Linked DNA regions of Homo sapiens: region 1 is linked to region 2. Evidence: promoter capture Hi-C in 16 types of primary human blood cells and fetal thymus (Javierre and others, 2016). All regions are on one chromosome and are shown on one strand. The core of a region is centred on a gene start or on the middle of the fragment in contact, and the rest is flanking DNA. Distances in the headings are between cores, read along the strand shown.

Evidence for each region. Contacts are between HindIII fragments. The CHiCAGO score rates a contact against its expected background, and 5 or more counts as called.
Region 1: a fragment that was not itself captured here is called in contact with the fragment with the promoter of MYOZ1 in region 2 in 1 of 17 cell types (fetal thymus); the score reaches 5.4 in fetal thymus.

Annotation. Positions count from the first base shown.
Region 1 is chr10:73,808,502-73,814,447 of GRCh38, forward strand. NDST2 (N-deacetylase and N-sulfotransferase 2) reads right to left here and starts at 3,097. Exons shown (of 15, transcript NM_003635.4): 1 at 2,973-3,097; 2 at 2,298-2,402; 3 at 1-228. NDST2-ZSWIM8-AS1 (NDST2-ZSWIM8-AS1 readthrough) reads right to left here and starts at 3,319. Exons shown (of 18, transcript NR_182658.1): 1 at 2,973-3,319; 2 at 2,298-2,402; 3 at 1-228. It overlaps CAMK2G (calcium/calmodulin dependent protein kinase II gamma), which reads right to left. Exons shown (of 23, transcript NM_001367534.1): 23 at 4,000-5,946. RefSeq lists silencers at 2,532-2,601, 2,902-3,611. The HindIII fragment of the contact is 756 bases long and covers 1,532-2,287 here.
Region 2 is chr10:73,636,786-73,643,256 of GRCh38, forward strand. MYOZ1 (myozenin 1) reads right to left here and starts at 4,689. Exons shown (of 6, transcript NM_021245.4): 1 at 4,626-4,689; 2 at 3,160-3,250; 3 at 959-1,137. The coding sequence starts at 3,232. The HindIII fragment of the contact is 20,057 bases long and covers 1-6,471 here.

The DNA of each region.
Region 1 (5,946 bases), core at 660-3,159, 170 kb after region 2:
GGATTCCCTTGGGGAGTTTCCTTTACGAGGTGGAGACGAGTCCCCTTAGCATAGGGTAGGGGAGGTAGAAGGGGAAGCAGGGGGCAACTATACAGAGTCCACTTGTCTCAGGTCACCATGGCCCCCTGGCCCATGGCTTCAGGCTGCAAATCTTGCCAGGCTCTCCCCTTGGCCCTGGCTGAGCGCCTCACATCAAAGGTCAGCAAAGTTCAATCTCTTCCCCTCTACCTGTAAGACAGAGAAATCAGTGGGTTACTCCTCCCTCTGAAATTGTCATTAATCCATTCTCCTCCCCATCCCATCTCTCTTACCTCCTGCTTACTGGATAATCTGTTCTCAAAAAAAAAAAAAAAAAAGTTTCCTCTAGGAGAATCTACAAGCTGAGTCCTATACCTTAGCTTCACAGCTTGTTCCCTTTCCCTTTCTTAGAATACCCAAATGAATGTCCAAATTCTCCTCTCTAAGCAAAGCTCAGAGATGGAGCAGTATATGCAAATGATAGGAACAAATCTCCCATCAACAAGAGGCTAAATATCCTAGAAGGCTAAAAACAGGCCTGCTCTGAAAGGAGTTCCTAGCCCATGACCGAGCAGCTGGCAGCCAGCAACAGCTCTGATCTTTCTGTGAGGAAGGGACGGAAAGCCCCGGAAGTCTTCAGAAGTCCCATGCTCCAACAAAATATCAGATAAGGAACTCATGAGTCTGTTAATCTTCTCATCAATCAAACCCAATATCACAGCCAACAGCTTTAACGAACTTGCAGTCAGGTGGACACTATGGTGGGGGAGTTCAAAAGGAAAGAGCAATCCTCATGATAGGTAATCATTCTACCAGTTTCCAAACCCAGAAATTAGGGACTCCCTTACCCGTTGCTTGTGAAACATTACCTGCCCCTGACCTTCACCTCAACTTTGCCAGTCAGGAGATAAAAATGTAACCCCTGAGCAGGCCACACACTGGGTGCTGAGAAAAGCCATACAGCTGAGTCCACTCTACTTCTCCTTCCTAACTTAGCCTAAGTAGTTCTACAACCCTATTCCTAAACAGCTCAGAAGAGTCCCTGAGCTAGTCTGGAGAGACATGAGGTATTGAGTCCAGTTACACAAACAGAACAACTTGAGTAAGGACTGGATGACAGAGAGCAACAGGAGCTTAAGTCACATCCAACCAATGACAGAAGGAAAAAGGACAGTGTGATCAGAAAACAGTTTTAAGGAGGTCTAATTTTGGGGATCTCTTTTATTATTTTTAGATGGAGTCTTGCTCTGTCACCCAGGATACAGTGTGCTAGTGTGATCATAGCCTACTGCAGCTTCAAACTCCTGGGCTCAAGTGATCCTCCCACCTCAGCCTCCCATGTAGCTGGGACTACAGCTTTGCACCACCACACCCTACTAATTTTTAATTTTTTTTAGAGATGGGGGTCTTGTTACGTTGCCCAGGCTGGTCTTGAACTCCTGGGGTCAGACAGACAATCCTCCGGCCTCAGCCTCCTGAGTCTGTTCTTTTTCTTAAATCGACTGCTTCTGTAAGCTTTATTGTCACTATCCCCACTCAGCCTCCTTGTAAGGCTGGCAATCCCTCTCTACCACCCACCCCCAAACACACATCTCAGGGGTGATAAGGCAGAGCTGAGGTCCTTCAGAATTGACAGAGATGATTTAAAAACAGTTCAGGACAGGCGTGGTGCCTCACGCCTGTAATTCCAGCACTGTGAAAGGCCGAAGCGGGTGATCACTTGAGGTCAGGAGTTCGAGACCAGCCTGGCCAACATGGTGAAGCCCCGTCTCTACTAAAAATACAAAAATTAGATGGGCATGGTGGTGGGCGCCTGTAGTCCCAGCTACTCAGGAGGCTGAGGCAGGAGAATCACTTGAACGTGGGAGGCGGAAATTGCAGTGAGCTGAGATTGTGCCACTGTACTCCAGCCTGGGTGACAGAGCTAGACTCCAGCTCAAAAAAAAATAAAAATAAAAATAAAAATAAAACAGTTCAGCTTTGGCCTAGGTAAAACGACACGAGAAGACAGCTGGGGGAGAGGATCAAAATGGTGACGGGAAGGGGTGAATGCTAAGAATGTGATGCAACTTTAGAGAAAACATTGTAGTGAGGAGGTCACTGACGGGAAGTTGATACTCAGGGTGTATCATCCCGTATTTGAGAAATTACAACTTGCCAGCCATTCTTCTAAGAGCTTCACATATATTTAATCTTCACACCAGCCCTAAGAGGTAGGGAAAAGGTACATGCTCCATTATCCCCATTTCACATATGAGTAACTCAGAGAAGCTTAGAACCTTGCCCAGGATCACACAGCTCAGTTGGTGGGAGGGCTGGGATTCGACGTCAGGCCTGTCAAGCTCCAGAGCCGCGTTCTTAGCCGCTGCATTTTAGCTTCATACCTGGAAGAAGCAGCAAGGTTTAGGGAAGGGGCGCCGGGAGCGCCGCAGGCCGGGCCAGTGAACACTGAGGGCCAGCAGGGCTGGGCGGGGTGGGTGTGTGCGGGAGATCTCTGAGGACGGCGAAGCCAGACGGGGGCCGGGGCCGGGCCCGGGCTTGGGGAGGCCGGGACGGCCGGAGCAGCGGCGCGGAGGCTGCGGGCGCCGAGGGGGCCCGGGGCTGGCGGGTGGAGGGGCCCCGCCGAGAGGAGACGGGGGCACAGGTGGATGCGAAGAGCGCACCGGATGTGGGACACCAAAGGGGAAGGGGCCACAGGCGCGCGGCGGCGACTCCGGGGTGACATCGAGACAGCCTCTGGGCTGGGAGAGCCCTGCGGGAAGAAGGGAGCCCGCCCGGTCCGGAGGGGAGCGAGGCGGTTCTGAGGGAGGCCGGCGGAAAGGACCCGGGGCGCGGCGCACGCTGGGCCGCCCGGGACGACCCTGCGGGTGGTGATGGTGGCAACATCCAAGGGAGTCTGTTGGGGGGGCCTGAGCGCGACCGTGGGCGGGGGGGTCTCCTCAGGGGCGGCTCACCCGGAGGACTGGGCGGCGTCCCCGCTGTCCCCGGGCTCCGCCGCGTCCCGGGGCTGCCCGGCTTCCCTGCTTTCGGGGCCACGGGCCGCGTCGCGGCTGCTCCGCCATCTCCGAGCGAACGCTCTGCCGCAGCCTGGCCCAACCACCGCTCCCACCGGGGGAGGCGGCGCGCCGCCGCTGGTGGCACCCGCTCGGATCCACCGGCTCCGGCCCTAGCAGCCGCGCGACCTGGGTTCCGGGAAATCAAGCGGCCCTCCGCAGTGCCGGGCCGAGCCGCGGCCTCCGAGACGGCGGGCTCCGCGCCCCGCCCGCGGAAGCGCACCCCCTCCTCTCCGCGCGATGGCACTGCCGGCCGAGCGTCGGGGACCACGACTTCGGAGCAGGGGCGGGCTCAGGCCTGGGCTCATCCACTCAGCCCCGCGGAGGGGGAGCCGGGCCGGCCCACTCGGGGGAGGGGAGGAGTAAGAGGCGGAGCGGCCTAACCGGAGGCGGGACCAGGGGCGGGGCGAGGCCCTCAGCCGGCTCCCAGGGCACTCACCCTCCCTCCCCGCCCCGCGTCGCCTGCGCAGCACCGAGCGCTGTTTGGAGGCTGTTTATGAGAAGTTTTTTTTTTTTTTTTTTTTTTTTTTTTTTTTTTTTGAGACGGAGTCTCACTCTGTCGCCTGGGCTGGAGTGCAGTGGCGCGACCTCGGCTCACTGCAACCTCCCCCTCCCAGGTTCAAGCGATTCTCCTGCCTCAGCCTTCCGAGCAGCTGGGATTACAGGCGCCCGCCACTATGCCCAGCTAAATTTTTTGTATTTTTTAGTAGAGACGGGGTTTCACCATATTAGCCAGGCTGGTCTCGAACTCCTGACCTCGTGATTCGCCCGCGTCGGCCTCCCAAAGTACTGGGATTACAGGCATGAGGAAGTTTTATTCTCAAAAGTACCCAAAGGGAGTAGGAGGAGGTACTCTCTCCAACCTGGTAAGCCAGGCTGCTAAAATCTACGCCTCTGGCCGTAAACCTCCAACAGCAGTAACACAATGGACTGTTTAAAGGTTATTTTATTAAATATTTTCAGTTCAAGGTTTCATTGTAACAAAGCTATGAAGGGTCTACCAACATTCAGAACAAACACTATTTTTAAATTATTTCTATGTTGTCATGCAAAAATTCTGCATCAAATGCCTTCCGTTTCTTGTTTAAAAGGTGATTTTTTAATAGTCTATTGTCTATAGATGCTGACATTAGCCCCAGAAGAGGAGTAAGAATGCTAAGAAGTGGGGCTGGAGCAGCCATATGAAGCTATGGGTCTCAATGAATTCTAAGACCATTTGTCTTCAAGCCAGCAAAACGAAACCCTGTGGTGAAGGGATTTGCGTGCTGGCACTGCAGACTGCAGGGCAGGAAAGGGCTAGGGCCCAGGGGCTGGGACATGCATGAGGTGCTCGGAGGAGCCTGGCTAAATCCAAGCACCAGCACCTGTGAGTCTGCTCTCTTCTCAGCTGGCTCCCAAGTAAACCTGTAGCTTTGCCTCTTCTCCCAGCTCTCGTGCCTCCTGAAGGTAGTCCAGGGAACTGGAATCTACCCACCTTTCCCCCAAAAGTGGAGATGTTTGTGCAGATAAATCTGCAGCGTTGTTTTGAGGGAAACCAAGGCCATGACCAATTGCTCCTCCATTATCTTCTTTGCTATCTGCTTAGGGTATAGATCTCTTCCTCCTGGAATGGAACTCCTTGAGCACAGAGAGGGACAATGAAGGTAGAAGCCTTGGCTCTGGACACCTCTTTTGGGTTACATGCGGGGAGGGGTGATGCCCATGCAGATTGTCCAGCAGTAAGTCTATACTTCAGTTGGTCAGTAAAGAGGCCTCTGTAAGGACACCTCTTCTTCTTGCCAGAGCAGTCAGGTCAATCTCAAAGACAGGAAAAGAGATGGACGTGCAGCAAGGAAGAATAAGAAGGGAGGCAGCCCCAAAGGCAGCCTGAATGCATAGAAACGACCACCACCTCTTCTCCCACTGCCTCACTCCTCCCATCCCACAGGGGCACTTGGCAGAGGGCCCAGGCCCAGATGAGGGTCAGCATGGGGACCACTACCGTGAAAAGGCAAGACAAAGATGGTCCAGATCAGCACAGAAACAGAACCGCCAAAGGCGGCACGGGAGCCCTGACCAGGGCCTGGCTCTCTCCTTGCCAGGTTAGAAGAAAACACGAAGCAAAGCAGCAACAACCCCTCCCCCTCCTAGCTGCAGGGATAAGGCCTCAATATTAGGGCCCACATGCATTGTGCATCCTATAGAAATGGATGAGTGAGTGCATGTCAGACTAACACGAGGTTTCTCATCGGCTTCATGGCGGGTACACTTCTGCAGCACCAATTCTCTTCCCTTCTACACTAAACAAGACAGTACAGCAACGTCCGGGCTCTCAGTCCTGAGGCCACCACTTCTCAGCTGCCTCCACAGCAGGCTGGGAGCTCTGCGTTCTCTCCCAAGTAGGTCTGATGGTCACGATGTTCTCATCAGCCCCATTCTAGGCGCCTATGCAAGTTCCAAAGAAGTTCATTCCTAGACCTGGGGTAAGCAGGCCACCTCAGGAGCTGCAATCACATCACGGCCCCCAAAGCTCTGTCAGAGTTCTTGCCTGGTCCCCCTAAGTCCATGGGGACCAGAGAGGCCAAGCTCACCTCTTCAAGGCCGGTGGGTGAGCCACTGCTCATGCCAGGATGGACCTCATACATACTCCTGCCTTCTTGCCAACCCAAGGGCTGTCGGTGGTTTTAAAACGCATCATGGTATGGATTCCTTTTTTTTTTAAACAATCTTTTTTTCTTTTTTTTTTTTCTTAAATGTAAAAAACACCTCGGTACAGCAGAGACAGACACGAAGGGCGGGCGGGAGGGCTGCATGCAGGGGCGTGCATTGGCTGCTGCCGCTTTTGTAATTGAATTGTTTTAAACCTCAAACAAACAGGACTGCCGCTGTCACTCAG
Region 2 (6,471 bases), core at 3,439-5,938:
AAATATTGCTTGGGACTTACTTATACTAAAAAAATTATTCATTTGCATCTGAAATTCAAATTTAAGTGGACATCCTGTATTTTTATTTTAATGTCCCAAATATTGCATGGGACATATTTAAAAAAGAATTCATTGTGCATCTGAAACTCAAATTTAATTGTATATTCTGTATTTTAAAATTTCAATTTTATTCTTTGCCTTATCTTCTTCCTTTTTTCTTTTTTCTTTCTTTTTTTTTTTTTTTTGAGACAGAGTTTCACTCTTGTTGCCCAGGCTGGAGTGCAGTGGCACAATCTGGGCTCACTGCAACTCCACCTCCTGGGTTCAAGTGATTCTCCTGCCTCAGCCTCCTGAGTACCTGGGATCACAGGAACCCACGACCACGCCCAGCTAATTTTTTGTATTTTTAGTAGAGATGGGGGTTTCACCATGTTGGCCAGGCTGGTCTCAAACTCCTGACCTCAGGTGACCCACCTGCCTCGGCCTCCCAAAGTGCTGGGATTACAGGTGTGAGCCACCATGCCTGGCTGCCTTATCTTCTTTCTAAAATTTTTTTAAATTTTTATCTTTATGTCCCAAATATTGCATGGAGCATACTTCACTAAAAAATTATTCATTGTGTATCTCAACTTCAAAATACAAGACTGGACTGCCCCACTGGGCATCCTGTGTTTTATCTGGCAATCTATCTTTAACACTTACCTTTACTGGGAAGGAATTTTCTCCCTAAGGGTGTGGTATTCTCCAACCCTTCAGTGGCTCTATGATGAAAACTGGGTTTCAGAGGTGGGCTGTAACTCACCCTGGAGCTGTTGCGGGCTCAATATATCTGGGGGTTTAACAAATTTATAAATTTTCAGGGAGGGGATGTTGACTGCATTTTGGAGGTTCAGGGCCTACTAACAAGCTGTCAGAACAGGCACCAGGCTTTGAGATAGTGATAAAGTTCCAGACTCACCATTGAGCTGTCAGAGAAAACATCAGGGTGGTTCTCATAAATAAACTTCTCCACCCTCATCTGCCGCAGTTTGAACATCTTGGAGCCCCGGTTGGTAAGCAGCGACAGTTCCTCCAACATCACATCCCTTGGGACACTGATCTTTTTGCCCAGGTTCAAGCCTGAGCTCTCCTGTCCACCTTTCAGGGAGGCAAAGAAGAAGAATCAAGGGAAAGAGGAAAGTAGGGTTTTCTGGGCTCAGAATGCAGACCTCATCCACAACTAAGTGTGTATGTGTGTCCTGGCAGAGGTCATTTAGGGGAACAAATGCTGTCTAGTTTGTGAGGGATTTTGATTTCCTGGGACTTGGAGAGAATGCATGGGAACTGGGGTGCACTGTGGAGATAATGGGAATACTAGAGTGGAGAGGCCAATGGGGTAAAAGAGGTACGGGCATGGGGTACAGAGCAAAAGGAGTAAAGGAACATCATAGATGGAGGCCATTGGAGAAACCATGGCATCAGGAAAAACCCAGAGGCCAATCTTGTGTGGAGTCCAAATACAGATGCCATATATATATATATATATATATTTGTTTTTATTTTTTATTCTTTTTTTTCATTTTTTTGAGACAGAGTCCTGCTCTATCATCCAGGCTGGAGTGGAATGGCGCGATCTCAGCTCACTGCAGCCTCCGCCTCCCAGGTTCAAGCAATTCTCCTGCCTCAGCCTCCCAGGTCGCTGGGATTGCAGGCCTGCACCACCATCCCTGGCTGATTTTTATATTTTTTGGTAGGGATGGGGTTTCACCATGTTGGCCAGGCTGGTCGCAAACTCCTGAGCTCAACTGACCTACCAGCCACGGCCTCCCAAAATGCTGGGATGACAGGCGTGAGCCGTGGCGCCCAGCCTACATTTTATTTATTTATTTATTTATTTATTTATTTATTTATTTATTTATTGAGTCAGAGACTTGCTCTGTCTCCCAGGCTGAAGTGCAATGGCGCGATTGCAGCTCACTGCAACCTCCATCTCCTGGGTTCAAGTGATTCTCCTCCCTCAGTCTCCCAAGTAGCCGGGATTACAGGCACCCGGCACCATGCCCAGTTAATTTTTCTATTTTTGTAGAGACAGGGTTTCACCATGTTGGCCGGGCTGGTCTTGAACTTCTGACCTCAGATGATTGGCCCACCTCAGCCTCCCAAAGTGCTGGGATTACAGGCATGAGCCACCACGCCTGGACTTTTTTTTTTTTTTTTTTTTTAATGGAAATGAGGTCTCATTATGTTGTCCAGGCTGGTCTTGAACTCCTGGGCTCAAGTGGTCCTCTCACCTCAGCCTCCCAAAGTGCTGCGATTACAGGTATGAGACACAGCCCCAGCCCTATTTGTATTATTTATTTTGAGACAAAATAAATATATCTTAGGATGAACTCTGTCACCCAGGCTGGAGGGTAGCGTCGCAATCATGGCTCACGGCAGCCTCCACCTCCCGGGTTCAAGCGATCGTCCCACCTCAGCCTCTGGAGTAGCTGGGACTCTAGGCACATGCCACTACACCTGGCTAATTTTTGTACTTTTTGTAGAGACGAGGTTTTACCATGTGCCTAGGCCAGTCTCAAACCCCTGAGTTCAAGCGATCCACCAGCCTTGGCCTCCCAAAGTTCTGGGATTACAGGCGTGAGCCACTGCACCTGGCCCAGACTTCTGTCTTAACTACTTTCCCTTTTCTTTCCCTCAGTGAGCTCTGGCTCCAAAGAGTCTCTAGGTATTGAAGAGCTCTTCACATGCATGCACCCCTGCCCACCCCCAGGAAACATGCCTGTGCAGTTTTCCATTTTAAGTACTTACACAAGCTCCCTAGCTCTGGGGAAAGAAGTAAGGGAAATTAACCACTTATTGAGACCTGAGTCTGTGCCAGTCTCCATTATATTTTCTTCCTCAAATATACCTCACTGACTCATGGGTCCTGTGGTCCTGGACCTGTGCAGGTAACATGGCAGGGTATTGTCTCAGATTATGAAGTGAAAAGGGTAGAAGGTGTTGAATCTTTTCTCTCTTTCTCCTTACCCTTCTTAATCTTCCCTCTCCCACTCCCCATCACCCGCCTTCCCACCACTTAATTTCTCTTGTTTGTTCACCCTAAGATATATATTTCTGGGACTCTTGGTTTAGGGATGCTCTTAAGAAGTCCCACACTAGGGAGATGCAAACATGTCCTACCTCCAGTGAGTTCCATGATCAGCTTGCTGGATTTCCTCTTCTTATTAGGGGCCGGGGTTCCTGAGAGCGGCATTGTGGAGGTGGATTCAGCCTGGACAGGGTGGGAAGGAGGAGTTGGTGGATGGACAGGGACTGGGAAGAGTGAGTGTCTGTAGGAGAGCAGCACTTCTTAACCTGGGTTTAAGGGCTTGAGGGGACAAAAAAATTTTTTTTTCTTTTTTAGAGACAGGATCTCACTCTGTCGCCCAGGCTGGAGTGCAATGGCACAATCATGCCTCACTGCAGCCTCAACCTCCCTGGGCTCAGGTGATCCTCCAACTTCAGCCTCCCAAGTAGCTGGGACTATAGGTGCGCACCACCGTGCCTGGCTAATTTTTGTATTTTTTGTAGAAATGTGGTTTTGCCATGTTGCCCAGGCTGGTCTCAAACTCCTGGGCTCAAGCAGTCCTCCTGCCTCCCAAAGTGCTGAGATTACAGGGGTGAGCCACTTCACCTGACCCAGATTTTCAAAGAAGCATGTATTTCCCCAAAAGGTGAAAACTTGCGCTTTAGGGCTTCTCTTTTCTTGGGATACAGGACAGGAAGTATAGATGCACACCAGCCCCTGTTGTCTACCAACCTGTTGTGAGCTGTTTTTCATAGAGTCAGTGCAGGAATTAGGAACATAGCTAGGTGTGGGGAGTGTTTAAAAAACAATAACACAAGCAGGGCAATGCACCCAGGTTTCATTGGCTTGGCATGATTTGAAGTTTTTATTTGCACTGGGATATCAGACTGGGGCTGTGATTCCAGGCTCTGGTCTCTCCTCAGTCTTCCCCCAGTCCCCAGGAGGACAGAGAAATATTCTGCCAGGGTTGAGGAGATTCAGCCAAAAACACTCTCCATAGGAAGGAGAGGTTGTTGCTCCTTCATCAGGCCAGCTGGAACATGGCCTGGGAAGTCATGGCCCTGCTCCTGCAATCACTCCCGCCACAGACCCCAGAGTGGAGGCAGGTGTGGAACTGGGAAGGGTAGGGAGCATTCAAATCCCGACACGTCAATTCAGCAATATCATAGCAGTGGGGAATTGAGGTGGGGCAGAAACATAGTAATAGGATCTGGCAATGGAAAGGGACAAACTGGGATAAGATGGACTCCAATCCCTTCTTAAGAGAAGTTGGCACTCAGTGAAATGCTGTCCTCTTCTAAGTCCTGTCTCAAAAAATACATCTGCAACTCTACTGACTTAGTGGGGTCTCCCTTCCCATTCTTCCAGTGCCTCCCCCGACATCTCCATTCCCCCCAACCTCCTGGGCCCCTCTCCTTCCAACTCTCCTTCCCCTCTCCTTCCAACTGGACAGCTGGGAGCTGAGCATAGATGAGGAGAGGGGAGACTCCCCCAGGATCAAGAATCACAATTGTAGACACAGACACAGAAGTCAACACAGTGGGCTCCAGCCTTTCTAACGATAGAGCTGGAGACTTACCGGCTGCTCGGGCAGTGGTCAGCTCTCCCTGGGGTCCAGCAGCTTTGGAGGACTGAGCTGCTGTGACCGGAGAACACGAGCTGGGCAGGCGTGGGGGCAGCACTGGCAGTGGGGGAGGGAAGTTGGTTATTAATAGAGATGATGAGCGCAAGCAGCTCAAATGGCACAGGGGGTACTGAGACCCTGGAACCAAGATCCCTCCCTCCTTGCCCGGAGGCTCAGGAAGGAGGGAAAAGGCCTTTGGGATTCTCCCACTGAACTGTCTGAGCCAGGGATCAGTCTGCCCAGGGACTCCCCTTCACATTGCACCTAGAGCCTGAGATCCAAAGAAGCACTTAGGGAGAAACTGAAGACTGAGAGGGAGACAGGAAGTAGACAGCAAGTATTGGATAGGAATTCAGTCAGAGAGAGAGAGTCTGGGGAACATGCCCTGAGGGCCACACAGAGCCAATCCAGGGCAGAGTGGAGAGACCTGTGGGTGTATTTGGAGCAGGGAGGGCTTAAAGTGCTATATTTGGGGACAAAAAGGGAAGTCTTCACAGTGGAACTGCTCTTTTAAAGTTCCTGGATAGGTTGGTCTTTTCTCGGTAAGGGCTAGATCTTGGCAGGTTAAGGGACCAAATTAACTAAACCCAGTACCTCCTACAAAGGAATGATGTGGGGAAGACTTGACAATTATTCTGTCTGCCTCACTCCCTATTCTTTCCTCTTGAGCTCTGGCAGTTTTAATAAAAGACAAACACTTGGATCTGCATTTTTTTTTTTTTTTTTTTGAGATGGAGTTTCGCTCTTTTTGCCCAGGCTGGAGTGCAGTGGTGCGATCTCGGCTCACTGCAACCTCCACCTCCTGGGTTCAAGCAATTCTCCTGCCTCAGCCTACTGAGTAGCTGGGATTACAGGTGTCCACCACCATGCCCGGCTAATTGTTGTATTTTTAGTAGAGACGGGGTTTCACCACGTTGGCCAGGCTGGTCTCAAACTCCTGACCTCAGGTGATCCACCCACATTGGCCTCGCAAAATGTTGGAATTACAGGCGTGAGCCACCGCCAGGATCTGGTCTCTAAGGAGTTATTCTCTAGCCACCACGCCCAGCCAGGATCTGCCTTTTAACCTCCATTTGCTGTTGAGATGCTCAGTTCAACCTGCTGTGCGGGATAGACATCGATGTCTCCCTGAGAAGCACATATAGGCTCTCTGAGGTTTCTTTTCTTCTTCTTTTTTTTTTTTTTTTTTGAGACGGAGTCTCGCTCTGTTGCCCAGGCTGGAGTGCAGTGGCGCAATCTCGGCTCACTGCAAGCTCCACCTCCCAGGTTCACGCCATTCTCCTGCCTCAGCCTCCCGAGTAGCTGGGACTACAGGCGCCCACCAACACGCCCGGCTAAATTTTTTTTTGTATTTTTAGTAGAGATGGGGTTTCACCGTGTTAGCCAGGATAGTCTCGATCTCCTGACCTCGTGATCCATCCATCTCAGCCTCCCGAAGTGCTGGGATTACAGGCTCTCTGAGGTTTCTACTTGAGATTTCCTGCAAAGGGAGCACATACCACATAGGATCTGGACTGTGCCATTTGTACTGTTCCAGCGGAGTCTCTGGGCAGGGCCACAGGCTTGAAAGCCCCTTTGGGGAAAGCCTATCATTTCCCCAGGCCCTTCTTCAGTAGCTGCATGATCTTCCTCCACCTTCTGCTTAGATTCTGGAACCAGTTGCTGCAGCACTTCTGCTGCAGCCACCACAACCCTGTTGCTGCTACCTGAGGAAGTGGCTTTATTTATTTATTTATTTATTTGAGACAGGGTCTCACTCTGTTGCCTGTGCTGAAGTGCAGTGGCACAATTTTGGCTCACT